Linked DNA regions of Homo sapiens: all the other regions are linked to region 3. The links are contacts of gene promoters, found by promoter capture Hi-C in blood cells and fetal thymus (Javierre and others, 2016). All regions are on one chromosome and are shown on one strand. Each heading gives the region's core, a stretch centred on a gene start or on the middle of the fragment in contact. The rest is flanking DNA. Distances are from core to core; before and after follow the strand shown. Region 1 holds the start of LINC03057 (long intergenic non-protein coding RNA 3057). Region 2 overlaps HOXB-AS4 (HOXB cluster antisense RNA 4). Region 3 holds the start of NFE2L1 (NFE2 like bZIP transcription factor 1). Region 4 holds the start of HOXB5 (homeobox B5).

Region 1 (3,788 bases), core at 652-3,151, 600 kb after region 3:
GGACTATGTGAAATATACCATGCAATGTTCTACTTTGCGAGGGGGGAGGCATATAGATGAAAATATGAATTTCCCTTCTACTGCCTTTATTATTGAGCACAGTTGGGAGCACATAATTTCACATCTCTTTCGCATGTCTGTATAAATCCTCAATCTTTAAACGGTGCTTGACTACTCCGAGAGGCACAGTTGCTGTCATATAAGATTCCTAGCCGACTCCGGCGAGTTACTAATTCCTCTCAGACTCCACAATACCCACGATGCACGATGCACACCCCTTTATGCTTGCTTTTCTTTACATGCCTTTTCAAAGGCGAATAATTTTTGTATTGACCCATGAGTCAGTCCATACAGTTTGAAATCCTTTGGATGCCCTCTGCCCACTCCCATAAACAACAGGTCCCTCCACAAAAATGCACATGCCCCGTTTTTGTGAGTGTGGGTTTCAAATAAGATGGCGTCTCCTGGCATTCCTTAGATTCAGATACACGCTCTCTCAGGCAGGAGGCTGCTCACAGTCCAGAGGGGAAGAAAACCTATGAGGCCCCCAAAAGCCAAAGCAAGAGACTCCCCCAAGTATTCTGCCCCCTCCACGCCAGGAGGCAGCTAGAGAGACAGCGCGCGGGAGAGCTGATTCTGCACCTTGGGGAGCTGGGGGCTTCTGTCTAGACCAAGAGTTCCAGGCCAATTCCTAATTTCCGTTAGGAAAAGTGGCCCTTCTTCCATCCCAAGCGATTCCTCACCCCCAAGGCTGCTCAGGGCGTCTGGCCCTTGCCTCTCTCACGGCATCCGCCTGGAATCCGGGGTTGTGAGCAGGAGGCCCAGGACGCAGGGCCTCAGGCTGGGCGGGGCACTGAGCACTCGGCTCTGGGGAGCCAGGGTTTCCGGTAGAACGAGGGGAGGCGACCCCCTTTCCCCACACACACACCTGTTGGAGAGGTAGGGTCGGGTGCCAGCGGACAGGGAGGCCAAGGCGTTTTCGGGTGCGCCCCGAGGCCCTACCCGGGAAGCTGCCTCGGTCTGGAGATCAAGGTTAAGCCGGTGGCCCCGGGAAGCCCACGCCTGCCACGGGCGGTTGGTCCTGAAAGCTCGGGCCACGGGGCTGCCCAGCTTGGAGAGGGGCCTTTCACGCCGCAGTCCCCAGCTGCGAGAGGAAGGGCTGCGCCCGCCTCCTCACCTACCTCTCGGAACCACGCCGTCCCCCGCGCGTCTTCGTAGACTGCAGGAGTCCAGGGCGTCTGGGGACTGTGACGGCGCCCAAGGCGGGGGATGTGGCGGCTCTGGGTCGCCGCCTTCTGCCCCCGCCTCTGTGAGGCCTCTCGAGGCAGTGTCTGTGTCTGGGGCAGCGACGCCGACGGCGCTGGGGGCGCGAAGGGGCTCACGCTCCTGCGTTCCCCTGGCGCCGGTGAGTGGCGGGCGAGGACAGGGTCCGGGAGGGGGATAGGCGAGAGCGCTTCCTGCCTCCGCCCGGGCGGGGCTCGGCCGTCTCACCTGCCCCCACCCACGGCGCCGTCGGATCCCAGAGCGGCTGGTGAGGAGATGGGCCTGGCGCGCCGCGGGGAGGCCAGAGGCGCGGAGGAGCAGCGCCCAGATGGCCGGAGAGAGCAGAGAGAGAGAGAAGAGAGAGAGAAGAGAGAGAGAGAGAGAAGAGAGAGAGAGGGAGAGAGGCAGAGAGGGAGAGAGGGAGGGAGAGAGGGAGGGAGGGAGGGAGGGAGAGAGAGAGAGAGAGAGAGAGAGAGAGAGAGAATATGAGAATATGAGAATATAAAAGGCAAGAGAGAAGCAGATCCAAGGGCGCGCCCAGAGAAACATCAAATGCACAAATAGACAAAAGAGGTAGAGGAGAAAGCTGAGTCCCAGGGGCTGAAAGAAGCCATGGGCGTCTGAAGCGAGCGACAAGTTATCCTTGGGAGTTGGAAATGTGAGAGGGAGGGGCGAGGCCGAAGGAGGCTGAGAAGGGGAGGGGGCGCTCACACCCTGGGCGGGAGGCGACTGATCCACACTTAGGGCTCCGAATCCGGAGAAAGAGAGCGCCGGACCCTCCTCCGCCCACCTCCCGCCCCAGCCGCAGCCCAGCGACTTCCCGCCATCCTCGGCCACCGAGCGGCTCCTGCCTGGGGTTGTTCGACCGGGATGGCTGCACCAGGCTGAAGGTTGTCCCTCTACCTGCCTCCTTTCTTCTGTTCCCTGTGCCTTACATGGGTTCCTCCCTATTCTATGAACCCAGAGGGAACGACCTTGGCCAAGGTTAGAGAAGGAGCTTGAAAGTTTCACTTTCCATCTTAGCCCTCAGGACGCCTTTGCGTTTTGGCCCTTCGTTAGCGTGCTATCCTGGAATTGCAGGCTCTTCTCTTTATTTCTGAGACCCAAATAGAGGTTTAACCTCCTTAAAATCAGTGAAACTACGACAAACAGTGGCATTCCTGGCTGTCTGGTCTCTAAGGAGTGCCCCCCCTCCCTGACCTCAGCCCTGAGACCCTGCTTCCTCCTCAACCTGCATGGGACTGGGGACACCCCCTCACAATCCAGTCCCTTCCTGCAGGTGGTTGTCCAGGGGGCATGTAGAGGTGTGCCTGAGCTCTGTGTCCTAAGCCTGGCTCTGCCACTGACTTCAGCCCCCACCCCTTCTCCTTTTAGGCCTCAGTTTTTCCTCTGTAAAATGGGCAGAGTGATTTTACAAGTGATTTTACCAAGTGAGAACTGTTGAAATATCTTACTATAATTGTGGATTTGTCCATTTCTCCTTTCAATTCTATCATTTTCGGTGCTTCATATATTTTTGAAGCTCTGTTATTAGGTGTGTACATTTAAGGTTGATGTGTCTTCCTAGGTGTGTACCACATTTAGATTTAGGATTGATGTGTCTTCTTTTTTGAGATGAAGTCTTGATCTGTCACCCAGGCTGGAGTGCAATGGTGCAATCTCGGCTCACTGCAACCTCCGCCTCTTGAGTTCAAGCGATTCTCCCACTTCAGCCTCCCGAGTAGCTGGGACCACAGGTGTGTGCCACCACGCCCAGCTAATTTGTGTAGTTTTAGTAGAGACGGGTTTTCACCATGTTGGCCAGGCTGGTCTCGGCTCCTGACGTCAGGTGATCCGCTTGCCTCAGCCTCCCAAAGTGCTGGGATTAGAGGTGTGAGCCACGGCTCCTAGCCATGATATGTCTTCTTATGCTTTGCTTCTGCAGCCTCCTCTCATTTGCAGGTTCTGTTGAGCTTGAACCGCTGAGAGAAAAATGCATCCAAATGGGAATTTTATTCTATATCCACGTAAACATGAATATAGAAATATGACAAAACTAAATTTTGCTTCCAAAATGTTTTTGTTTTGTTTTGTTTTTGTTTTTTTGTTTGTTTGTTTTTTCTGAGACAGAGTTTCGCTCTTGTTGCCCAGGCTGGAGTGCAATGGCACAATCCCAGCTCACCGCAACCTCTGCCTCCCGGGTTCTCCTGCCTCAGCCTCCCTAGTAGCTGGGATTACAGGCATGTGCCACCATGCGCAGCTAATTTTTTGTATTTTTAATAGAGACGGGGTTTCTCCATGTTGGTCAGGCTGGTCTCGAACTCCCGACCTCAGGTGATCCGCCCGCCTCAGCCTCCCAAAGTGCTGAGATTACAGGCATGAGCCACTGCACCCGGCCAACGCCCAGCTAATTTTGTATTTTTAGTAGAGATGGGGTTTCTCCAGTTCGTCAGGCTGGTCTCGAACTCCCTACCTCAGGTCATCCGCCCGCCTCAGCCTCCCAAAGTGCTGGGATTACAGGCGTGAGCCACCATGCCCGGCCCCAG
Region 2 (3,321 bases), core at 755-3,254, 580 kb after region 3:
GAGGAAAGAGAATGAACTGGCCCCTAAGCCCTGTAGTCTGCATCCCAGCTCTTTGCCGTCCAGGTAAATGCACCAAGCAAGGAGTCCCACCCCAGCCAAGCTTTCTGGAAAGCACTGCTGCCCCAAACTGGAGTTCAACTCCAGCTCAGGCAAATGATTAAAGGGTCAGCTGAGAGACTGTGGACTCCCTCCCACCAAAAAAGCCTTGTTTTCTCCCCAGACAATGGTACCCACCATGAAGGAGGATAGCAAACAGGATTGTGGCTCCTGGAGCCCAGCTTCCAAAGACACTTAGTAAAGGGGTTGCTTCAGTGGGGGTCACCTTATCCTAAGAGAGCAAAACTGCTCCATACCCCACCCCCAATCCTAAACAGAAAGAAGGAAAACCCTGCCTTCCCTTGCAGCCTTTTGCCATTCCCTGCACTGGAGCCTCGCCTGAACACAGCTGGGGCCAGTAGCTGGTAGCTTGGAGAAGGGCAAGCAGGGAAAAAAGCGCAGCTCCTGGCCACACTGGGGCCCAGAGCAGCCAACAGTGAGGCCGAGGTTTGAAGAGCAGAGGCCGACCAGCCGGTGAGTGCCTATGCTGTGGGGGTGACTTTTGGAAGGGTCCTTGTCAGTAAGAAGAGAGAGAAAATCTAGAGGAAGGGAAGGAAATGGGAGAAGAAAGAAAAACAATAAGTGAGAATGGGGAAAAATAGTTTGTTTTTAATTAATAAGCTTAGCTGAAATTTACGCGTGTTTAATGTAAATAGATGTGTGTGTCCTATATGTATATTTCAAATCAATATTTCTGTATGGGGAACCCAGTGTGCAAATGCACTCTGCTCTATACTGTATATAGAATATGTAATAAATAAATCTGCCCAACTATGAAACTTGCTGTGCTTGGGCGTTCGTGTATGCAGGATCTAATCGTGCATATGTGGATGCATGCATAACCTCTGTGAGTGATGGAGGTTTCTGATTCTGCTCGTGTAAGAAGATCAGTTACCCAAAAGGTTGTGTGTACATTTTTATAACCATCACACACCTATGGAAAAGGCAAAAGCTTGGGTATTTGTGTACTTGAATTATGGCTATAAAATATTAGCTAATTCAGATGTCGCACTTGAAAATCTGTCCCTTGACTTGATATTCAAGCAAAATATACAGCGTATCCTCAAACAAGTGCATATGACTTAACACTACGTTGATTCTACGACAACTTCTTTCCAAAATGTTTCTCTGGAAGGTAAAATAAATGCTTCAAAGTGGCCCAGAAGAGGTTATGAAATTTTGTGACTTCTTTGTTTGACCATAAAATCCTTTACTGTGTTTCTTACCCAAGACCGCAGGGACGGTGTGCATTGTGTGATGCCTATTTCATGACAGCGATGAGCGCGGGGGTGGAGGCACAGTTACTTATAAGCACATGTGTCTCACAGAATTATGAAGCAGAGGTGGACAGAGATGAGCCGAGTGTGAAAGTGACTGTGGAGGTCAAGCAAAAGCACTGCTGTGTACAACAAAATTAGAAAAGTCCCCAAATCTATGTCTCCAAGCACCAGAGGTATTTCTTCAGACTCAAGATCACAGTCCAGACCCACTCTGGGAAAGAGTGAGGCATGAGGACACTTGCCCCAGTGGGAAAGGACACAAGATCGCAAAATCCTTACCCTTTATGCAAAACGGCCTCCAAAACAGGTATCACATCGAATCTGCATACTCAGGTTCAAATCTCGGTGCTTCCACACCCCCCAAGTGGGGATCTTAATTGTGAAGTAATGAAATCTTCTGCCAAACCTCCCTCCCAGGATGTCAGAGGTGAAAGGAAGGACTGAGAGGTCAGTGGCCCAAGCCCACCTCAGGAATCTTCTTACCAACTCTCAGCCATCAAGGATATCCAAGGCGATGGGGGTGGCTGACTCCTTGGGAGGGGGCATCCAGGAGGCCAAACGGGGTGGGCGGCAGGCAGGCGGAAAGGAGGCGAGCAGGTAGAAGGTTATTACGAAATTGCTTCCATAAAACCTGTGGCTGTTGTAAAACTCTGCTTTCCAAAGACTTTATTTCCTCCTTTCTCTCTAACATTCTCCTTTTTTCTTTTTACAGCACTTTTCCTGGGAGGGGGTGGCCAAGGGACACCAGGGATGGAAGACAGTCAGGCTCTGAGTGACTGGGCAGGTTTGTGAGAGGCCCAGGGAGAAGTGAGATAAGGCCGCAGGGACGCGCCAGGCCATCTCCACCCAGACCAGAGGATGAGAAACTGTCAAGGGACAGAGTTGTTAGCCTTTGCTTATCAGGACAGTGGGTTGAAGGCTCCATTTCCCCTAGGCTAGGGGTGGGTCTCCCTAATGCCCCTCTGCTCTAGCAGAAGCCCCTTGTTCAGAGACCCCCTGGCCCTCCAAGTCAGCCTGGCGCCGAAGCCCCATCCGGTCGGGCCTCTTTCCCGGGCCCCTTTGCACATTTCCTCTGCCTCAAGCAGCAGGGGGAAGGTTTGGGAACAAAAGTTAGCTTATGCTTTGGAAAGTCCCCCTTCTTCCACCAGCACTTCTAGTTATTCCTTTCCTGGGCACAGGGCCAACAGCCTTAAGAGGACCGAGGTCAGAGAGGGTATCAGAGTCTTGCCCTGCCCAACCCCTGGTTTCATCCCTTGTCACTGCATCAGTCGGGGTTGAATTGTCCAACAACCTGGGCTCCCCATTAGCTTGCAAGTCAGGCCCCTCTCCAAGGAGGTGGCACTCAGGACCTATGTGTACCCCCAGCCCAGCCCAAGGCCAGTGGGAAGCCTTTGGCCACTGGGGTGGGTGGGGAGGAAAAAGTCAACTGAGGGATTAGGAAAGGAAGGACTTTTCGGACCTACTTCTGTAGGTCTGGTCCCATAGGGGGCCTTCGACAGGACCCTGAGGGCTTTAGGCTGAGATTGCAAGAGCTCTCAGTGTTTGCCTTTCAGAATGAGACCTACTGAGCCCTCTTCAAGGACCTGAAGCTTCCTGCTGAGGTGGAGCACCAGCCCGCAAAGAGTTACAAAAACCTCAAGAACCCCCTGCATTTCTTTTGAAATCAAATATTTGTGAAGTTGGGGAGAGTTTCTCTGGAAAGTTCTGGATGTAGTTGAGAGCTCAGAGACCCTAAGGCTGGAAGTTGGAGCTCTGACTGCCATCTTTGGGTTGGGCTGAACAGCCCAACAGGGCCAGGGAGGTGCCTCGGGAGAGTTGACTGCTCCTCATCCCCCTTCCCCTCCTAACACACACACAAAAAAACATTCAGAAGTGGGAAGACACTTCCCAGATCTCTTCTCTGGGGGAACATCCTTGTTGCTCCTGGATGAAGGACCTCAAACCT
Region 3 (3,291 bases), core at 159-2,658:
TCCAGGAGTTCCAGTCCAGCCTAGAATAGGTAAAACATGCTCTCTGAATTAGTCTTTGAAACTGGTAAACTAGCTCAGAAGTTTTTTTAAGAATTCCATGAGTGGTTTGCTGGTGTACGTTTATTATATGCAGTGAAAGTACTTAATCTGCAAACCACCCCAAATTAAGCCCCTAACTCGCAAGCACAAAATGGACTCGATTATTTACTGAGTTATCAGTTGGCCTTGTCCTTAGTTGTACAGGGACTAATGACTCACCTATAAATAATGGGCTCTTCTAAGAAGACACAGTTGAGTTGACACCTCTTTGTCCTATAGCTGGGAGGAACGCATTGCAAACGCCAACCCAATGATTCCCTAAATGGGGTCTTCGCATCAGCTGCGTTAAAATCACCCCAGCAGGCAGGTTATCCGGCCGCCACTCCAGGGTCATTAAATCAGACTCTCCAGTGGGACCTCGGAATTCGTAGCTTAGCAAGCTCCCCAAGTGATGCTGGGAGTAAACTAACGTTTGAGAGTCACAAACATGTTTTGGCAATATAACCAGATGGGACTGGAGAAATTAAAAAATGAGAAACATCCCTAAAAAAGCAAGACTAAGCTGCGTGGGAGGCCAAACGAGGGGGGTCCTTTGGGCTGTTTCTACCATGACAAAAATCGCCATTACCCCACACCTCTCACACCGCCAACGTTCCGCCAACGTTCCGCCAACGTCCCACCACCCTCATGATATCCGTCCGCGGTACTGCTCCAGCGAAGGTACCCTTGCCTGGGCCATGAGGCGCAACCGTCCCTCACAGCTGGGGTGGCTTCTCCAGGTTCGCACCGAGGGGAAGTTGGGGTACCGGTTTCCGCCGCCAGCACCCAAGATGGCGGCACGAGCGTCGCAACCACAAGAACCACATGCTTCGTGTCCCGCCTCAGCATTCTCGGGTCTCACTAGACTTTTGCAAGTCACTGTGGGAACCCTCAAGGCGAGGGTGTTCCGCACTCTGGCGGCGATACACCTTCCTATTCCCTGACCTAGGCCTTCATTCCCCCGCCACAGAAAGCGCTGGAAGCGCCCAACCTGGATACTTCACCCAACGCCCAAGCCCACTAACATCGCCCGCCGCGAAGGCGCGGCCGAGGGGCCCAGAATGCCAGACACTAGGGCCTTCGCCCTCCTCATTGGTGGGTCCATACCGCGGGGCGGGCCTAGGTACTCATTGGGCCGGGAATTATGTCAGTCTTGGGAAATCAGGTCCGGGGATGAGGAGGTACACTCAGCCATTGGGCCCTCTCTGCTGCCAATCAGAGGGACATCCGTCGACGGCCCCGGCCTCGGCTCGTTGATTGGAGAAACTGTTCCTAGGGTGTTTGCGGCGGGCGGGTTTCCGAGTGCGGTAGCAGGAGGGGGCGGGGAGGTAAGCGGAGGCTCCGAGCTCTAGGCCGGCCGGCGGTGGCGGCGGCGAGGCCGGGACTCGGGCTTAGGGCCTGCTGTGGAGGCAGCGGCGGACGCCGAGCTAAGCAGTGGGTATCGGGCACATTCCTTTCCCAGAAGGGAGGGTTGCAGCGCCGCGGGGCCGAGGCTTATGGGGCGACGGGATGGTGCTGAGGTGCAGGAGGCGGGGGCCGAGCGGGGTTCCCGCCAGAGCCCGGCCCTGGGCCTGACAGGGAGGGGCCCCGCGCGGGGCCGAGAGGAAAGCTGGCTCCGGGGTGGGATGGACTGGGCAGGGTTGAGGGCACGAGAAGGCGTGGTGTGAGGCCTGGACTTGGGAGTGGGGTGGGGCCATCGGGACGGAGGGCGGGGTGGGGTTTGCTGTAAGGGTGGGTCAAGGCCAGGGAAGTAGCACTTGTTCGCTGGCCGCCCCTGGAGGCTAGAAGCTCCGGCGCCGAGAGTGGGCATGGCGACTTGGTCTCAGCCGGACTCGGGTATCCGGGCAGGGTGGGACCAGCCTCAGGCTATGGGCCCTGCACCTACTTGATTTTTAAGGGACTTTGTCCGGTTCCTCGAACTTAATTGGCTCCTGGGAGGTTTTAGTAATAAATTGCGTGAGAACGGGAGGGTAGCGTAAGCAGGAATTCTGGGTCGCAATTGTGTTTACTCTGACCAGAGAGAGGGAGTGTGAGTGTGTGTGTGTGCGCACGTTCGTGTGTGTACGTATAGCTCGCTCTCCCCCTGTAGAATGAAGTTGGTAGATGGGTCACAACGCAGGAGAGGAGAGGCGGTATGTCTTGGTTTGTGACATTAATGGAAGCTCAAAAGTGGAGACCAGAAACAGATTTACTTCCTCTGCACTGGGCAGTCTGGCTAGAGAACGTGGCCATATCCTTCTGCTTTGGCTCAGAAGGTCATATGAATGAAAATAAAACCTGCCTATGCAAATTCTGGACGGAATAGTCCTGCGTAGTAGGGCCCCCACCATCCCTCTCCTTTTTTTCTTTCCTTTTCTTTTCTTTCTTTTTTTTCTTTTTTTGAGACGGAGTTTTGCTCTTGTTGCCCAGGCTGGAGTGCAGTGGCGCGATATCGGCCCACCACAACCTCCGTTTCCTGGGTTCAAGCGATTCTCCTGTCTCAGCCTCCCGAGTAGCTGGGATTACAGGCATGCGCCACCACGCCCGGCTAATTTTTGTATTTTTAGTTGAGATGGGGTTTCTCCATGTTGTTCAGGCTGGTCTCAAACTCCCGACCTCGGGTGATCCGCCCTCCTCGGCCTCCCGAAGTGCTGGGATTACAGGCGTCGGCCCTTTTCCTTTTTTTTCTTTTGTAAGTTGTGAGGATAGGAAAGGGAAATCAGATTTCAAAGTTCAGAAAACAAAAGGCATTCTTCTTCTGGGTGAAGTGGTGGCCTGAACATTGTCCTTTTGTCCTTCCACACTCTCACTGTTTAATAATCTTGCCTTTTTGAACTGAGAAAAGACAACTGTTATGGGTGGTTTTCTCCCGAGGGGTGAAAATCCAGCTTTACTTTTAAGACAGGAAATGGGCTTCTCATGTGAAAATAGAAGCTGGGTAATGCGCCTGTAGTGGGGGAGGAGGGCTGGTAAATAAAACAAAGGTGTAAGATATTTTGGATGACCTGGTTATTGTCTGCTTATTCAAACCAAGCTACATTTTAGGATATTGCACATTTAATATTCAGTAACTGAGATCATTCGTGATCAGTAGCTTTCTTTGATAGTTCTTCTATGATCGGTTGCTATATTTTGGGTTTTTTTTCTGAGAGTGTAAGTAGTCCTTTCTTCCTGTAAAAGTGGCCTTTAGGCCAGGCACAGTGGCTCACGCCTGTGATCCCAGCACTTTGGGGG
Region 4 (3,512 bases), core at 308-2,807, 540 kb after region 3:
TTGGGCCCTTGGAGAGAAGGAGCCCTTGATAAGGGTAGGGAAGGCTGAGGGTGAGAGAAATCCTTTGAAATCCAGCTGAATTTTTTTTTTTTTTTTTTTTGCTTTAGTTGGTGGCAGAGCTGAATTGGGACTTGGAGTAGGAGACAGGGGGCTGGGCAGGCCTCTACCACTCCCAAAAGGCCAGGAGCCTCCTGCTGAGGACTTAGGCCCAAATTACTTTCCCAGAAGAGTTTTCCAGAGGCTTCCTTGGCCAGCTAGTGGAAGACCAGGATGAAGTCTAGCTCAGCCTTTCCTCTGCCCCAGCCCCACATGGGGTTTCTGGGCCTTGGAGTCCCCCAGGCATGAAGGTCTGTTCCCTGGCCCAAGCACTGTTGACCAAGCCAGTGACTTACATGGCTGAGAAGAGTTGTTGGGGAGCAGCCTACTTTTTCTTCCCTGCACCCCAGATCTATTGAGAATGGTGCAGGGTGTGCCCGGGATGGGAGAGGCAGACCCCTCGGAGAAAAGACAAGTGGAAGGGCAATGGAGTGGGGGAAACATTTATTTGACTTCCAGGAAAGCTACAAACAAATACCAAAAGCGAATCACTGAGACAGGCCCCGCAAAGACAGATTTCACACGTAGCACAGCATCCACTCGCTCACTACAAATGGTCTTGGAAGCAAGATGGGTAAGGGAGAGATGGGTCTGACCCAGACTATCCCCATATTTACAAGCTTTGGGCCCTCTAGCCAGACCCATGGATTCACAGAGAAATACACAAGACATTTTGCACTGAGGATCATTTTTGTTTCCGTATACTCCCAGACCAGGCCTTGTGGGGCCTACCCAGGCAGCAGGAACTTAAATCTCACTATCTTCTTTCTCTCTTCTCAATACCATCCCTTTGGTCCTCCCTAGCCCCTTCCCACCCTAGGACCAAGCCCCTAGGAGACTTGGGCCTAGGGAGTGAGGAGGGAGGAGGAGGAGAATGAAAAGGGACTCCATCTCCGAAGCCAGCTCAGCTTGACCCCACTGCGGCACTACCCCACCTCAACTGCTGCCCCTTACAGAAGTTTCCAGCTGAAACTCAAAATACAGCGATCATCTTTTTATAAATAAGTTAGAACACAGATGGGGAGGGGAGAGTTCACATTAAACATGCGAATTTCTTTTTTTTTTTTTCCTGGGGGAAAGACTGCAACCACAGACACAAACATTCAGAAACACTGGCGGATTTGGGACAAGCAGAAGGGAGTTGGGAGCATGGAAGGAAAATAATAATAATAATTATTATTAACAATAATAACAAGATAACCAGTCCAGGAGAGAGGGAGCCACAGGAAGACCTAAGACCAAACGAAATATCGTAACACAAGGCGAGGCAGGCTTGTGGGAACCGGTCCCCAGCGGGCGGCGGCAGAGCGGGGAGGATTGGAGGGGCCAGGGCTGGGGGTGGCACGGGCTCTTGGGCCGCTGGGCTCCTCTGGGCGGGCTCAGGGCTGGAAGGCGCTGCCAGCTGTAGCCAGGCTCATACTTTTCAATTTGTTGTCCTTCTTCCACTTCATGCGCCGGTTCTGGAACCAGATCTTGATCTGGCGCTCGGACAGGCAGAGTGCGTGGGCGATCTCGATGCGCCGTCGCCGGGTCAGGTAGCGGTTGAAGTGGAACTCCTTTTCCAGCTCCAGGGTCTGGTAGCGGGTATACGCGGTCCGGGCCCTTTTCCCGTCCGGCCCGGTCATATCTGGAGCAGATAGAGGAAAGCCGCAAGGCAACATTATTCCGGTTAAGGGAGGGGGCACTGGGTGGGAGGGGGCGGGGGAGCAGGACCCAGGCGTCCCGGCACCCAGCTCACCACAGCTCCAATCCTCTCTACTCCAGATGCCCACATTCAAGCTCGATTTCTGCACCCCTTTCTACTGCATCCCCCACTTCTGCAGGCAGCCAGTGCGCCCGGCTTTGTCTCTTGCTCGCTCCTAGTGCCTCACCCTTGGCTGGGCTCAGGCGGCCGCTCGCCCCGGGAGGGAGGAGAGCGGTTGCACTTTTGCCCCGGAAAGCTCCTTTTACTGTTCACCCCTTCTTTGCTAGCGACAGTCTCAAAATTTCAGGGGTAAGCAGGACCCTTCCCCACATTATATGAACCCCATCCTTTATCCTAAAGCTGGTTCAGCTGCGCTAATAAAAACCTAAGCCGAAGCTGGAAACAAATTATTAAAAATACCCCCCTCTTAACAGAGAGACCCTTTTTGGCTCTGTCTACGAAGCTATGAGGCCCCTCTTAGATACTTCTCCCCCTTAGAAAAATGAATCTATATTTAGGGTAAAGCCAAGCTCTCCTTGTCCCCCCGATCCCACCCCAAAACGCAGAGAAGGAAAGCCGAGAAGACAAAAAAGAGAGAGAGAATTACCATGGCTGATGTGAAGCTTCCTCATCCAGGGGAATATTTGCGGAGTCTGCCCCTCGGGCGCGGCTGTGGAGGTGGCCATGGGCTCTGGCTGCGCCCGAGCTAGGCTGGGGCTGCTTAGCTGGCTTGCCGCTTCCTCAGGCTCCGAGGACGCGCTGGCCTCGTCTATTTCGGTGAAATTGGCGCTGGAGCTGGCTGAGGTCGCCTGGTCGGAGGGGGACGAAGCAGAGGGCTTGGCGCCGTGGCTGTCGCCGTTGGTGCAGGGCAGGGACTCGGGCGAGGACAGGGAGCAGCTCGAAGCCGCTTGCCTGAAGCGGGGCTCCTGGGCGGGCGCGGGGAAGGCGCGCGAGCTCTCGCCCACCGCCCCAAAGTGGCTGGAGGAGGCCGAGGAGCGGTTGACGCTGAGGTCCATCCCATTGTAATTGTAGCCGTAAGAGCCGGTGTGCATGGCAGCGGGATCCCTGTAAGAGCCGCTCAGAGAGCTGCCACTGCCATAATTTAGCAACTGATAGTCCGGGCCATTTGGATAACGCCCCGAGAAGGAGTTTACAAAGTACGAGCTCATTTGGGTGATTTTGGAGGGCTTGATTTGTGGATCGTGGTCGTTATAACCCTGTGCTTCACGATTTATGATGTATTAATGAATTATAGCGATGCACTGTACTTCGTTTTGCTATGTATGCGGCCAAATATGGGGGGGGGGTTGGAAGGGGGGTGGGGGGCGTTAGGGAATCACGTGCTTTTGTTGACCAGTCGTAAATTCTCGCTGATGACCTCAAGAGGTAATTCATGCTCTATGGTTACAAATAATGACGATCCGAGAATCGTTAGGGCCGATTCAATGCGAGCCTCCGAGAGAGGGGGAAAAAAGGAGAAGGGGGAGAAACAGAGAGAAGGTTGGCTTTGGCCTCTGAGCAGAGCGCGCCACCTCCCGGCGACCGACGGGAGCGCGGGCGTGAGACCGCCATGGCGGCGGGCGGCTGCCTCCCTGCTGGCTCCCTGCAGGCTCCCTGCAGTCGCCGGGAGAGAAAGAAACCCGGCCAAGGCTCAGCCACAGGGTTGAGCCTTTTAGAGCAGGGGTTGGGCTTTTTACCCACTTTCTTGTGGGTGGGGTTAGCCTCTCTATTT

The links. The method cuts DNA at HindIII sites, captures the fragments that hold promoters and counts their contacts. A CHiCAGO score of 5 or more calls a contact.
Region 1: a fragment that was not itself captured here is called in contact with the fragment with the promoter of NFE2L1 in region 3 in 2 of 17 cell types (naive CD8 T cells and total CD4 T cells); the score reaches 5.4 in naive CD8 T cells.
Region 2: a fragment that was not itself captured here is called in contact with the fragment with the promoter of NFE2L1 in region 3 in 1 of 17 cell types (total CD8 T cells); the score reaches 5.4 in total CD8 T cells.
Region 4: a contact is called between a fragment that was not itself captured here and the fragment with the promoter of NFE2L1 in region 3, in 1 of 17 cell types (total CD8 T cells). The highest score is 5.1, in total CD8 T cells.

The regions. Positions count from the first base shown.
Region 1 is chr17:48,645,424-48,649,211 of GRCh38, forward strand. LINC03057 (long intergenic non-protein coding RNA 3057) reads right to left here and starts at 1,429. Exons shown (of 2, transcript NR_186590.1): 1 at 1,182-1,429. It overlaps LINC02086 (long intergenic non-protein coding RNA 2086), which reads left to right. Exons shown (of 8, transcript NR_189645.1): 1 at 1-939. RefSeq lists enhancers at 966-1,634, 1,073-1,122, 2,013-2,222 and a silencer at 1,343-1,522. The HindIII fragment of the contact is 5,086 bases long and covers 1-3,788 here.
Region 2 is chr17:48,629,082-48,632,402 of GRCh38, forward strand. The region is part of intron 1 of HOXB-AS4 (HOXB cluster antisense RNA 4); the gene reads left to right. Among named protein-coding and RNA genes, the nearest start is that of MIR196A1, 1.8 kb to the right of the region's middle. The HindIII fragment of the contact is 1,917 bases long and covers 1,047-2,963 here.
Region 3 is chr17:48,046,951-48,050,241 of GRCh38, forward strand. NFE2L1 (NFE2 like bZIP transcription factor 1) reads left to right here and starts at 1,409. Exons shown (of 6, transcript NM_003204.3): 1 at 1,409-1,512. NFE2L1-DT (NFE2L1 divergent transcript) reads right to left here and starts at 1,103. Exons shown (of 2, transcript NR_170231.1): 1 at 675-1,103; 2 at 1-20. It also overlaps a transcript of COPZ2 not described here. RefSeq lists enhancers at 181-784, 629-818, 785-1,386, 889-1,128, 1,387-1,988 and a silencer at 1,539-1,818. The HindIII fragment of the contact is 11,044 bases long and covers 1-3,291 here.
Region 4 is chr17:48,590,734-48,594,245 of GRCh38, forward strand. It overlaps HOXB5 (homeobox B5), which reads right to left and starts at 3,046. Exons shown (of 2, transcript NM_002147.4): 1 at 2,388-3,046; 2 at 524-1,723. The coding sequence starts at 2,949. The coding sequence ends at 1,476. The region is part of intron 1 of HOXB-AS3 (HOXB cluster antisense RNA 3); the gene reads left to right. RefSeq lists a silencer at 2,670-2,719 and enhancers at 2,976-3,483, 3,185-3,254, 3,484-3,512. The HindIII fragment of the contact is 1,687 bases long and covers 715-2,401 here.